Linked DNA regions of Homo sapiens: all the other regions are linked to region 3. Evidence: promoter capture Hi-C in 16 types of primary human blood cells and fetal thymus (Javierre and others, 2016). All regions are on one chromosome and are shown on one strand. Each heading gives the region's core, a stretch centred on a gene start or on the middle of the fragment in contact. The rest is flanking DNA. Distances are from core to core; before and after follow the strand shown.

What was found. The method cuts DNA at HindIII sites, captures the fragments that hold promoters and counts their contacts. A CHiCAGO score of 5 or more calls a contact.
Region 1: a contact is called between a fragment that was not itself captured here and the fragment with the promoter of REV1 in region 3, in 1 of 17 cell types (neutrophils). The highest score is 6.3, in neutrophils.
Region 2: a contact is called between a fragment that was not itself captured here and the fragment with the promoter of REV1 in region 3, in 1 of 17 cell types (fetal thymus). The highest score is 6.9, in fetal thymus.
Region 4: a contact is called between a fragment that was not itself captured here and the fragment with the promoter of REV1 in region 3, in 2 of 17 cell types (M1 macrophages and M0 macrophages). The highest score is 7.3, in M1 macrophages.

What each region holds. Positions count from the first base shown.
Region 1 is chr2:98,653,821-98,657,276 of GRCh38, reverse strand. MGAT4A (alpha-1,3-mannosyl-glycoprotein 4-beta-N-acetylglucosaminyltransferase A) reads left to right here. Exons shown (of 16, transcript NM_012214.3): 7 at 812-925; 8 at 1,757-1,832. Among named protein-coding and RNA genes, the nearest start is that of UNC50, 47 kb to the right of the region's middle. The HindIII fragment of the contact is 2,662 bases long and covers 388-3,049 here.
Region 2 is chr2:98,608,732-98,611,829 of GRCh38, reverse strand. UNC50 (unc-50 inner nuclear membrane RNA binding protein) reads right to left here. Exons shown (of 6, transcript NM_014044.7): 2 at 1,791-2,074; 3 at 935-1,055. The coding sequence starts at 2,070. Among named protein-coding and RNA genes, the nearest start is that of UNC50, 1.7 kb to the right of the region's middle. RefSeq lists a silencer at 3,014-3,098. The HindIII fragment of the contact is 1,435 bases long and covers 1,002-2,436 here.
Region 3 is chr2:99,488,338-99,491,467 of GRCh38, reverse strand. REV1 (REV1 DNA directed polymerase) reads left to right here and starts at 1,451. Exons shown (of 23, transcript NM_016316.4): 1 at 1,451-1,651. RefSeq lists an enhancer at 628-1,513 and silencers at 947-1,616, 1,727-1,826, 1,897-1,976. The HindIII fragment of the contact is 11,070 bases long and covers 1-3,130 here.
Region 4 is chr2:100,264,363-100,267,882 of GRCh38, reverse strand. No RefSeq gene overlaps it. Among named protein-coding and RNA genes, the nearest start is that of LONRF2, 56 kb to the left of the region's middle. The HindIII fragment of the contact is 7,771 bases long and covers 1-3,520 here.

The DNA of each region.
Region 1 (3,456 bases), core at 469-2,968, 830 kb after region 3:
ACATTAAGAACATTTGTGCAAAGGCAGGCAGTTGCACTAGCATTTTGTGGAGATTTGCAAAAATGAATCAAGGGAGAATGCAAATGCAAAAGAAATTGCAATTCAGTCAGTACAGACTAATTAAAAACTTTAGAAAGGGTTCTTAACCTCAGCCCAATGGACATTTTGGGCCAGATAATTTTTTGTTGTGGGGGCTGCCGTATGCATTGTAGAATGTGGGGCAGGATCCCTAATGTCTACCCACTAGGCGTCAGTAGTACTGATCACAGTTGTGGCAACCAGAACGTCTTCAGACATTGCTAAATGTCTTCCAGAGGGACAGAATCACCCCCAGTTGAGAAACACTGGTTGAGAATGACATGTGGTCTATAACCCACAAGCAAAGCTTCTTGAAGATGTAAGAGCTTTGGTTTTTGCAAAATATACGTATTTAAAGACACATACATACTTATTTGTTTTTCTTCAATTTTCTATTTTCTGTGAGACCTTGATTTTTTTTTTTTAATTCAGATACATTTTAGGAACGTTAATGCCTGCAGTTGGCTTAGGATTTCTATGCTACTTTAATAAGAGCAGTATTTTATAGTTTTTAAAGCATTACTTTAAAAAAAAACTTTTGCTATTGGAAAAAACTGTATTTTCTGTAAATGAAATCAGTGATGAGCTGCTCCTTTTAACACCTTGCGGCCATAACATTATACGTTGCTACAAATGATTACTGATGTGTTTTATGTTAAACACAGTGTATTGAGCTTTAAGATAAATAAAATCCCACAGAACTTAAGTAACTCAGCTAACTTTCTCATAATAGATTTTCTAAAGAAATCAGTTCTGGCTTGGTGGAAGTCATATCACCCCCTGAAAGCTATTATCCTGACTTGACAAACCTAAAGGAGACATTTGGAGACTCCAAAGAAAGAGTAAGGTGAGCATGTGCCGTTTAAAATCCTCCACACTTGTGAGTGTAAATATTTAATACATGTAGTTTTTATTTATCGAAGCTGAAAACATTTTAGAGTTGAATTTGGTAAAATATTCTAGGTAAGTCTCATTAAGTCCAGGACCGCTTGGAAATAATGTAGAGTTTTCTTAGAATATGTAAAAACTTAATATTAGCTTTTATTTTACTGTGTTTTCTTAAACTAGCTTTTAGATCCACTTCTCTTATGTGTTTCTGTAGGCTACCAGGAATTCACTGACAGGGTTTAATACTGTAAATTTAAATATGAATTTTTTAAAGCATTCAGTACCTATTTGTGAACTTTGATCTGCGTGCAAACAGTCCTAGGCACCAGAATAGGGACCCTAAAATTGTAATTTTTGAAGCACTCATTTGATGAAACATTAAGATATTACTGAAAAAAGGGTCTGTGGTCAAGGAAGTTTGGAAAAATATGTATTAAGAATTTTTTTCCCAATAAATGTCTTTACCGTTGGATATTTTTGTGCCTCTTATGAATTAATATGTTTCTAGAAGGGGAACATGTATACATACTTACTTGATATTAGACTCATTTTTTTCCTCAGGACAGCTTGAGAATTAGTGTTCTTGGGAATACATTTTGATAAAGTCTTCATTAGAGGAAAGTGAATTTTCTTTGACTCTTCGTCCTAAGTGAGTGTGTGTGTATGTGTGTGTGTGTACACATATACATAGATGACATGTTATGTAGACATTTGACATTTATACATTTAATCTTATTTTACTAAATTTGAGTCTGATTCCTAACTTACTTTTTGAAAATGTTTATTTCAGATGGAGAACAAAGCAAAACCTAGATTACTGTTTTCTAATGATGTATGCTCAAGAAAAGGGCATATATTACATTCAGGTAAGTGTAGTTTTTCCTTTGTTTTTCATGCTTGTAAAGAAAAAGTGTTATCAAGGGTATGTTTTCATTAAAACAGGAAGTTTTGAAAGTGCAAACCCTCTGAGATCTGACAAATCATAACTATCTCAGAGCAGAGGGGTCTCCATGGTAACTGAGCATGTGGGCTCTGATGTTTCTCCACTGAGTAGGGAAGCCAGCCCTCCACTTAGCGGGGGACCTGCAACTCACTTATCTTTTTCCTCTTTTTCTCCCATTCCCCCATCTTCTCTTCCCTCTTCCCTCTCTCCACTGTCAAGAAGAACTAAGATGTCATTATTTGGCAGATTTTAAAGAGGAATTTTCTTACAATTTTTCTTTAGTGGTCTTACAATGAACTAATTTTTTTTTGTAGGCCACAATACTGTTACCACTATTTTGAAGATAATAAAATTGACATTTAATTCTAACAGTCCAATTATTTTTAGCAGCACAACAGTCCAATTTTTACCAAGAACACAATATGTCATGGGATTACAGACACGAGCTGCTGCACCTGACATGTAGCATGTTTTAAAATTAGGAAGTATGAGGCCTCCAACTGTGTTCCCTTTTTTTTAAGACTATTTTGGCTGTTTAGGGTCACTTCAGACTCCATGTAAATTTGAGGAGGATTTTTTTCTATTTCTGTAAAAAATGCCTTGGGAATTTTGGTAGGGATTGTATTGAATCTGTAGATCGCTTTAGGTAGTGTGGACATTTTAATATTATTAAGTCTTCCAATACATGAGCACAAGATGTCTTTCCATTTATTTGTATCTTCTTTGATTTCTTTTAGAAATGTTTTGTAGAAAAATTTTCCACCTCCCCAGTTAGGTTTATTCCTAAGTATTTTATCTTTTTTGATACTACAGTAAATGGCATTGTTTTCTTGATTTTTTTTTTGGATTGGTCATTGTTAGTATACAAAAATACAACTATTTTTGTGTGTTGATTTTGTATCCTGAAACTTTGCTGAAATCATTTATTGCTTGTAGTTTTTGGTGGATTCTTTAGGTTTTTCTACATATAAGATTATTTCATCTGCAAATAATGATAATTTTACTTCTTCTTTTCCGGTTTGGGTACCTTTTACTTTTTTTACTTGTTTAATTGCTCTAGTTAGGATTTCCAGCACTATGTTGACTAGTAGTGGTGAAAGTGGGACTCCTTGCCCTGCTTCTAATCTTAGAGGGAAAGCTTTCATTTGTTTGCTGCCAAGTGTGATATTACCGATGGGCTTTTCATATATTACCTTTATTTTGTTGAATAAGTTTTTTTCTATTTCTAGTTCGTCACATTTTTTTTAATCAAGAAAGTGTCTTGAATGTTGTCAAATGCTTTTCCATACCAATTGAGATGATCATGTGTTTTTTTCCTCCATTTTGTTAATGTAGTATATGTTACACTGATTGATTTTTGTGTGTTGAACGATCCCTGTATTGCAGGTATAAATCCCACTTGGTTATGGTGTATATAATTCTTTTAATGTGCATTTTAATTCCATTTGCTAGTGTTCTGTTGAGGATTTTTGCATCAGGGATATTGGTCTGTAGTTTTCTTGTGTCTTTGTCTGGCTTTGGTGTCAGAGAAATGCAGGCCTCCTAGA
Region 2 (3,098 bases), core at 470-2,969, 880 kb after region 3:
CCCTTTAGATCTAAATGGATTTAAACACAATGAATATCAAGAAGTGGTCTCTATTGACAAATGCAGAAAACCATGCTATCATCCAGACAACTTAAGCAGAACTGGCTAAATCTGTAATATTTTTGCAAAACCAGGCATTTTGTTAGTATGCAGAAAATAAATCTCGGGACCCCAAAATCACTAAGCCAAAGGGAAAAGTCAAGCTGGTAACTGTGTCAGGCAAACTTGCCTCCTATTTTATTCCTAAGATAGCTTATCTTTACAGGTGTGGGACAGAAAGTCCTCCTTCTACTCACCTGAGACAAGTGTTTATCTGATTGCTTCCTCTGCCCCATTGTTTATGTAAAAATGCAGACTCACTGAGCCAGATTAAGGCATAAATGACTATTCCTGTACCTGCCTCTCACAAGTAAATTGTGTATTCAGTGAAAGGCAGATCAAAGACTCAAAAGAATGCAACCATTTGTCTCTTATCTAACTGTAACCTGCCTTTCCCCACTTTCTGGATTAAAACAATGTACATTTTACACATATTGACTGATGTCTCAAGTCTCCCTAAAATGTATAAGAGCAAGCTGTGCCCCGACCACCTTGGGCACATGTCATCAGGACCTCCTAAGGCTGTGTCACAGGCATGTCCTTAACTTTGGCAAACTAAACTTTCTAAATTGAGACCGATCTCAGATATTTTGGGTTCAAAACATAATTATTTCAATTATTTGCTACATTTGACAATATTATAAACCAGCCTTTATAGTATTTTCTGATATAGGTGGCAACACAGGAGGGAAAATTGTAATAATCTTGGCAGTCAAAATTGATCATTTAGTAACTCTACCTGGGTTTCAATTTCCATCTGCTGCTATTGTACCTCTGAAGCAAACAAATGGAGATGCTACAGCAGTATCTGAAAAACCAAAGTTATGGTACTTACCACATTAAAGTTGCTATCAGAAGACCAACGCCTACACAATCTATGAGTACAACCCAAAGGAGAAGCTTTATTGTCTCAAAGAATCCCATGTCCAGCACAAAGCCAAATCCTATAGTGGACACTGAAAGAAAGATTCACAAGATTCATTTAGGGACTCTGCTAGGTTCTGGAAATACAGGACACATCCCTTGCCCTCCAGATGCCCAGGCTAGTGGGAGAGACAGGTCTTTAAACAAAACTCCCAAGATGTGTGAACACTACCTTGGGACACAGCGTGGCCACTGAGAGAGTTGAAGTTTCCTGAGGTGGGCCCTTGCCAGGCTGATTCACCACGGTGGCCTCAGTATTTAGAACGCCAGTGTAGAGAAGGCACTAACATAGTTTAAGTCCAGTTAAGGTGCAAAACACCCTATAAACTTCAATATCTTACCCACTTCAACACCCTACAGGTAAATGAGACCCTTGCATTATGGAATTGGAGAACTTCAGTTTCTCAGGTTCCCATCAATACCTTTACAATTCTCACTGTGGATTTGCCTGTGAAATGCAATTTCCAGTTTCATATTCCTATTCACAGTCAGCTGACATTTGGGTACCGATTCAAGTACTTAAAAAGATATGGAGTGAATCTTGTCCCCTGCTTTTCAATGTCCTAGGGTAACAGTTTACTCTGGCATCTGCTTGGGACCTGTAGAACCAAGACTACAACTTTCTTTCCTGTGAGATTTTTTGAGGCTTCAGTAAAAAGGAGAAATAGTTTCCAATATTTCCAGATTCTGACCCACAACACATTTATAACAAAAAATCTAATCAGAAACACTCAGCGTTCAATTCTATCTCAGATAAACACACTTACCACAGAGCCAGATACTTAACAGGACCAAGAAAGCAGGGTCATCTCTGGCCCACTGGTCCTTCGTCTGTTTTCGATAATGAAAATTTCTGTAAACTCTCTGTGGGGATGTGAACAGGTAGAGCATCTGCCAGGCAGCAAATTCAAAGTCCATTTGCCGAAAGCGGAAAAGCCTTCTCAGATATTTGTAGCGTTTCGCTCCGGCTGTGTGTCTTGCCGCATCCCTGGAATTCAAGACTCCGTTCCCCTGCACTAAGGAATTCACTGAAGTACTCGGTAACATCTTCCTAGATGGAAGAAAAACATTTCTTTTACACGTATTCTGAAGAAACATTTGGCTACCGACACTCCTCTTCTGAGTTATTTGGCAGGGAGGTCACTTTCCATGTTCTTCCCAACCCTAGAGAAAGGCCAGGAGTCAAAAGCAAATGCAGTTAGTTCTGAGGCGGGTCTTGGGGCTTGGGAACCGCAGACTGCAACCTCAGGCAAGGGCAACAGCCCACCCTTCTGAATCACCTAATAACACTTATCCAGGGGCAGCTACCATTACAGAGACAGGGATGATGTGACTGCCCCATGACTCCGAGGATAGTGATAGAGCCAAGATTGGAAATCTGACTCGAAATTCCGTGCTCTTAACCACCAAGCTTTTAAGAAAATGCCTAAGAAAGCAGTTTCAGCCGGTTAGAACAGTGTTACTGAAGAGGTCAAATAAATGGCCTATTCACACAGATCCATCAGCGCACTGCCAGCAAGCTTCTCGGTCACTAGAATGAGATTAAAAAACCAAGAAAAACTCCGATCCCTAGTGTTTTACATCCGGAATAGTTCAGCAGAGGGAGCGGTAGCGTCGGAGTCCAATCCAACCGGTCCGAGCTCCGGGGAACGCCGGCCACTGCCCGGCTGCCCGTCTCCCCTCCACTTCGCAGGCCCCCCAGACGCCGGCAGGGTCTGGCCGAGCCCAGCTGCTCCCTCCCTGCCCGGGGCCGCGGGTACGGCTGCCAGATTTAGCAAATAAAAACACAGAATACCCAGCTCCATTTGGATTTCAGACAGGCCACGAATAAGGTTTTAGTATGCCTACATCCCACGCAACATTTCGGACATGCTTATACTAAATGCTCTTTCTTTATCTACGATGCAAATGTAACTGGGCGTCCTTTCATTTTAGCCGCAACTCTATCGCCGGCCGAGGGGCCGGACGCCGACATGGTCACTGCCAGGCCGCAGCGACGTCAGGCCGCAAGCTGTCGGGATTAAATGGCCCCCGGCGCGAGCCCGGGCCGCGGGAGGGCAGAGTGGTCCTCAGGC
Region 3 (3,130 bases), core at 202-2,701:
ACTAAAAATACAAAAATTAGCCGGGCATGGTGGCGCATGCCTGTAATCCCAGCTACTCGGGAGGCTGAGGTGGGAGAATCACTTGAACCTGGGAGGCGGAGGTTGCAGTGAGCCGAGATCGCGCCATTGCACTCCAGCCTGGGCAAAAGAGCAAAACTTCGTCTCAAAAGAAAAGAAAAGAAAAGAAAGCAATTACGCAATTTGTTTTAAATTATGACGTCTTTGAAAAGTATGCAATCTAAATTCGTTGGATTAGCGACGAGAATACTGAAGTTGAAGTGCATTTATAGAAGTCTATAAAATGGCAAAAAACTGAAAGGGAAAGAAATGAGCTATTTGAGTATTCTCTGTGTTGCTAGTAAACAAGTTCCAACTCTGCAAATCAGTTTTCAAAAGAATACTGATTGTTTCCTAAGTACCTGCAAACTCTGAAGCATTTTAGGCAAGGGAATGAGTGGGAAAAAAGTATCTTCATGTTTGTGCATTACAACAATAAAGACTATTATGTAACAATGTGGAGTCTTCAAAGCGACCCTGCCAAGAGGGAGAAAGTGGTCCTTATGGACGGATTGTTTTCTGCTAGAAGGCCCTCAATTAGAATTGTACTTACGCATACATAATATAGGATATTATTTTTATATTCATAGAAAACTGCTTTCTCGGGTAACTCCAGCGCTGTACATGGGATGGGATACCGGCCCTCCGTTTACAAATACTCAGGCGCAATGCTGCCCGGGCACTCAAAGGACAGAAGATAGTGTCTGTGCCCTGCGGGAGCAGGCCACGAATCCCGAAAACGCCGTGGCGCAGTGCTCCTTCCCGCGAACCTGAGTGGGCCGTGGTTCTCGGTTGCTCTGGACATAGGAAAATGTCAGTTCATGTGTGTCCCTTTCTCCACTAGATGTCACTGTAAATCAATTGCTTAAGGAGGGAACCCGGGCGTCTGGCGCATCTTCACACAGTACCGGGGTTTGAAGCCCGGTCAGTGTCTGCACTTGTGTCCTTCCCCACTGGGGAGCCCCAAGGCGGGGCAGGCGCGGGGACTCGCTGTGCACGGAGCGGCGCGCTGTCCGAATGGCAACCGAAGAGCCGCGACCCGGTCAACGAAGCGCGGGGGTGACCGGAGCAGGACGGGCGGGCAGGCGGCGCAGTGCGTGGGCGGGCCCGCGCTGCGCTCCCCTCCGCCCAGCTAGCGAGACGGTCACGTGCCGCCCAGGCGCTGCCCCTTGCGGGCGGCTGCAGAACAACAGGGCGGGGCCGGGGAGGGGAGGAACACGGAGGCCGACGCCGGGCGCCGCGGTGCTACGCCCGAGGCTGGGGTCGCCCCGGGCCGGGGGGAGCAGAGCGCGTGCGCCGCGCGGCTGTGAGCGCGAGCGGGGCCGGGGAGCGCGCGCGGAACGCTAGGGGGCGTGGCTGCGGCGCGCGCGCTAACCGGAGGGGGAGGGGCGGAGAGCCACCGCGGAGCGCGCGCGGGGTTGGTTGCCGCGAGCGTGGGGGAGCGTGGACCGCGGCGCTGCTCAGCGGTGGGGCTGCCTTCCCCCGGCCCTCCTCCCTGGTCCCTGGCGAGGGCACTGGCGGCGGCGGGGCCGGGGTCCGCAAGGCCGGAGAAGGCCGCCGGGCCCGGGCATGGTGGTCTGGGGCAACGCGGAAGGTGAGCGACCCCCGGGCCGGCGGCGGGGTGGGGGAGGGGCGGGATCGGACACGCGTCGCCCGGAGGCGCCGCAGACCCGCCCGGCAGCGGCCAGAGCGCGGTCGGCCTGAGGTGGCGCGGGGGAGGGGTGCGTCGCCCCGGCCCCGGCCCGCGGCCGTCCTGTCGCGGCCTGGGCTGTCCACGGCGCCTTCCCCTGACGCTCGCAGCCGCCGGGTTATGTAATGTGTGACCTCCCCTCCCCTTCCCTTCCGTCATGGCGCGGCCGGCCCCGCGCCGCCGCCAGCCCCATGGGCCGCCCCGCGCCGACCCCTGGCGCAGCGGCCCTTCCCTCCGCGCCCGGCCGCATCCCGCCGGCCCGGTCAGACCGCGCCGCAAACTCCTTCCTCCTGCGCCGGCGCCTCGGCCGGCCATTCAGTTCCGCGCCATTCATTCACGCGCGCGTTCGGGCGTTCGTTCCACAAGCGTTTGTAGAATGTCGACCCGGTCGAGCCGCCGCTCCCACCCGCACTCCAGCCACAGCGTTTTTCCGCACCCCGCCTTCGACGTCCCCGGTGCATCCCAGAACCGGTCGGAATGTCCGAAGGCGGTTGTTGCTCCCTTGTTTTTCCTTGCTGCTTGTCCGTTCGCTAAATACGCTGGGCGCCGTTCCCCAACTGTCCTTCCGAGAGCCCCTTGCCCACTTCTGTACTGTTACAGTGACGCCGCTCTGGGCGCACCGAGCCGCGCTGTGTTTCGCTGCTCTTCCTACCTATTCTCAGTTTGTAAAGAAATAATCTCACATAACACTCCTTAATGTACTCCTCCGTAAGATAAATTGCAGATAATATACGTCTGCTAATTCTCTTTATCTCCACGTCTTCTCACGCCATGTACTAAGTAGAAATGGTTTCATTTAGGTGAAAATAATGCAGACTAGCACATAGCACAACAAGGGCTTGTAACTATTAAGGACTTTATGTAACAGTCTGTAATTCTGTGTATCTGTCTGGTCTTTCCGGACTTGGCACTTTAGTCTCCGAGAATAAGCCATTTCCTGTTTAGGTAGGGTAGGACCAACCATAACCTTGGTTCTTTCTATGGAGTTCTGTATGTAGCAAATCAGCCTGTGGGAACCATCTATCTGTCCACCAACCTTTCACACATATTCTTGGGTTTGCCCGTGCAGGGACCAGTGCTGCGTATTGTTCCCTGCCTTCCTGTACTGGACACTTAAGAGCTCACCTAAAGTTCCTCTTCCAGGAATCATTCTCCAGTATACAAGGCTCTCTTCCATTCAATTCTTAGGCTATTTGCGCCTTTTCCTGTGTTGCGTTTATCTTTTTAGCCCTGTCTTCTCTTACTGTGTAGGACCTTTTGAGGGTAGAGTCTGTACCAAACTCCTATCTTTTGTTGTAGAACCTTAACCGCTATTTTACGGTAAACCGTACATATTTAATTTTTTTTGTAAAGATGGGAATTGCTCTTTTAAAATTAATTTCT
Region 4 (3,520 bases), core at 997-3,496, 780 kb before region 3:
CAGAGGCCTGGGTAAAACACATGCATGCCAGAGGATTGGAGATAAACCTTACAATGATTCAGGGACTTTGCCACATCAACGAAATTTCTAGGGAGGCAGGGATGAGGGGCATTCAGGACAAATCACTGCATCTTGCACCTCCTACCATGAAGAAAGAAGCACAGTACCTTGTAAACTTCTTTGGGTTTTGGAGGCAGCATATGACACATCTGGGAGTGTTGCTCAGACCTGTGTCCTGGGTGAAATGAAAAGCTGCCTGCTTTGGGGAGGGCCAAGAGCAGGAAAGAGCTCTGCACGGGGCCCAGGCTGTGGTCCGTGGGGCACTGACACTTGGGCACATCACCTGGCCGACTAAGACATGAAGAGGATCACTGGAGGGTATTATGGGCTGAATTGTGTCAGCTGACATCCCCCTGCCACAGAAATTCATATGTTGAAGTCCTAAATCCAAGTACCTTAGAATGTGACCCAAACAGGGTCACTGCAGAAGAGTTAATAAAGGTAAAATGAGGTCATTAGGGTAGGCCCTAATCCAATATGACTGGTGTCCATATAAGAGAAAATTTGGACACAACTACATCCAGGGAGGAAGCTCATGTAAAGACACAGGGGAAAGATAGTCATCTGCAAGCCCAGGAGAGAGGCCTGGAGCACACACTTCCCTCTCATCCCTTAGAGGGGACGAACCCTGCTGACACCTTGATCCTGACTTCTAGCCTTCACAACTGCAAGAAAATAAATTGCAGTTGTTTAAGGCTTTCAATTGTGGTACTTTATTATAGCAACCCTAGCAAAATAATACAACAGAAGAAAGGAGCTGTGTGGAATTTATTGCAAATTATAATAGGAGAATCACAAGACTGCCAGCATGCTGCTGGGTCCTGGTGGAGACAGAGCCCTTGGCCATGGCAGAAAGTGGACATGCAGCCACAGCTGCCCCAATGAGTTAGGGTTGGGCAGAACCATCATATAAGATGAGGCGGGTCAGCAAAAATCCATCTTAAGATGAAAGTGGTATCCCTACAGTCACACACGAGCAGGACCAGGGCACACTACACAAACATAGCTCAGACCTCTGTCATCCACCATGTGTGTACCACTGCATCTTACCAGTTCATACCCATGGCTATGTGGGGAATTCTGTATAACCAAAGGAGGAAGAAAACATCCAAGCTCAGTTCATGCTCAAGTGGGCTTGACGTGTTTGTGTGAGCTGCACATAGATGGCAGCTGCATACAGCCTTGATCAAGGGTGGCCTCGAAAGACAGTAGCGATGGAGAAAGCTCCCAATGGGCAGAATTTGGGGCAGAGTACCTGGTCATCCACTTTGTGTGGAAGGAAAACTAGGCCAGAGTTAGAATATACATGGACTCGTGGGCAGTGCCAAATGGCTTGTCTGGCTTCAGGAGCCTGGAAAGACAAAGGCTGCAAGATCTGGGGCAGGGAGGTCCGGTAGAGGCATGCGGGTAGGCACATGGGAGTGGCAGGCGGAGAGCGTGATGACAGTCTTATTACATGATAGTGCTCACTGGAGAGCATCCACCACAGAAGACGCTCCTAGCAGCCAAGTAGGCGAAATGACTCAGTCAGGTAACATGGGCCAGCCTGTGTCATTGGCCCCCCAGTGCTGGCACAATGGTGGCAGGGATGGAGGCTATGAGTGAGCCCAATGGCACAGCCTTCTACTTACCAAAGATAATGTAGCTACTGCTTCCACCAAGTGTCCAGTCTGCCAGTAATGGAGACAAATACTGAACTTGATAGAAAGCCGAAGGGCCACTGACTCATTCTGAAATCTAAATAGACTGCTACTCTGAGTACAGATTTCTCTCCCAACCAGAAGGCCTCCATCAGAAGCACTAAGACAGGGCTCATGGAGTGTTGGCTTTGTCGGCAGTGGACAGCACCTCCATTGTGAAGGACGCAGCATGGGCTGTGATGGTGGATGCCTGTCACCTACTGAACTAGACAGGAGCTTCTGATCTTATAGGAAATTGGCATGGCTGTTAAAGGCCTAGTGCCAGCTCACAGGCACTACCTGACAAGAATGGGATGCTGTCCTCCAGGATGCAGGAGGCACTTGGGATCAAGCACTTTTACATGACACTTTGTCCCCAGTAGAAAGCCCTCAGGTCTGGAAACCAAGATGTGCTGACTCCAGCTCCCAGAAGCCAACTTGGAGCATCTGTGCTTCCCATGCCCTGAATTCTGAGCTCTGCAGGTTGAAATGTCTGGGTTTCCAAAGGGAAATTTTTCCCTGGGGACACAGCGACCCAACCCCTCACTCAAACTCAAAGTAAGGGAGTGAACTGCTAAGGTCACAGACTAACCTGGGCCTATGCTAGGCCCCAGGCCTCCTGGATCCCTGCCTCTGGCCGGACCACGGTCTCAGGCAGGACCACTGCTTCTGATTCACACAACTGCCGCCAATGCCCTTTCACAGAGCGCATGGCCTCCGAAGGGTGGAGTCAGGCCAGGCAGTGTGGGAGCGTCCAGAAGATTCAGCACAGCATGCGTGAAGCGAGCACCTGCACCCAGCTGACACTCCCTGTGGGGAGGGAGGGCTTAGGGCTGGGGAGAAGGAGAAGGGTGGGTGTGTGTGTTGGGAGATGAGAGTCAGACATTTCTCCATGCCCCAGGGCCCTTTTTCTTCCTCCTCCCAGTCCTGAGGTGGGGGCTCTGACTCCTAGCACTATGCATACAGTACCCTTATTTCTAGGGGAGGAGGTGGAGATCCCTGCAGTCTGGCTAGGGAGGAGAGTGTGCTGTGTCTCACACCCTTCCATACCCAGGGAGAGTGAGGGGCGTGGTATTCCACACACCCCTGAGACCTAAGATCCCTAACATGGGCCTGGTGGCACACACTGTGGCCTGAAAGAGCAGTCGCTACTGCTCAGCAGATAACCAAGGTGCCAGCTGAGCGGAACCAGCCTCACAGGCCTGCAGAGGCTCAGATCTGCATGTTGGCCCAGACCCCAAAAATGGAACGGTAGGGTGCCCTCAAACCCATGCTCAAGGGTGCACAGGTGCCACCTGCCCCCAGATGCCGCCCCACCTGGGAGATTGTCCCTCCACTGTCACTGTGTCATGATGAAATCTTCAGAAGCCTGGGGATGTGGGGACTGGCCAGAGGCATCTGTGCCCCCAACACTCAACACAGTTCCTGCACAAAGATGCTTGTGGAAGGAAGGAGGGAGGGAAGAAGGAAGGGAAAGATGGAGGCAGGAGGGAGGGGAGGAAGGAAGGGCGGATTCTACTAGAGACCTTCTCTCATTCAGTGGTTCGATGCCACAGCCCACCATAAGGCTGTGCACGCCCAGTGTCTCGCTGGATGCTCATAGCTCAAGGGGCACTTGGGGGTGCTCCAGCCTGGGCACCAGAAGCTCTGCTGGGGCTGCATCTGATTCACATAACTGCAGCCACTGCCCTTAACTTTCCTCCATCGCCTTTGCTGAAGTCAGGATTCCAGCTGAGCCCCGTTCCTCCCTTGCCTCCCTCCCTGCCAAGATTTCTCATGCG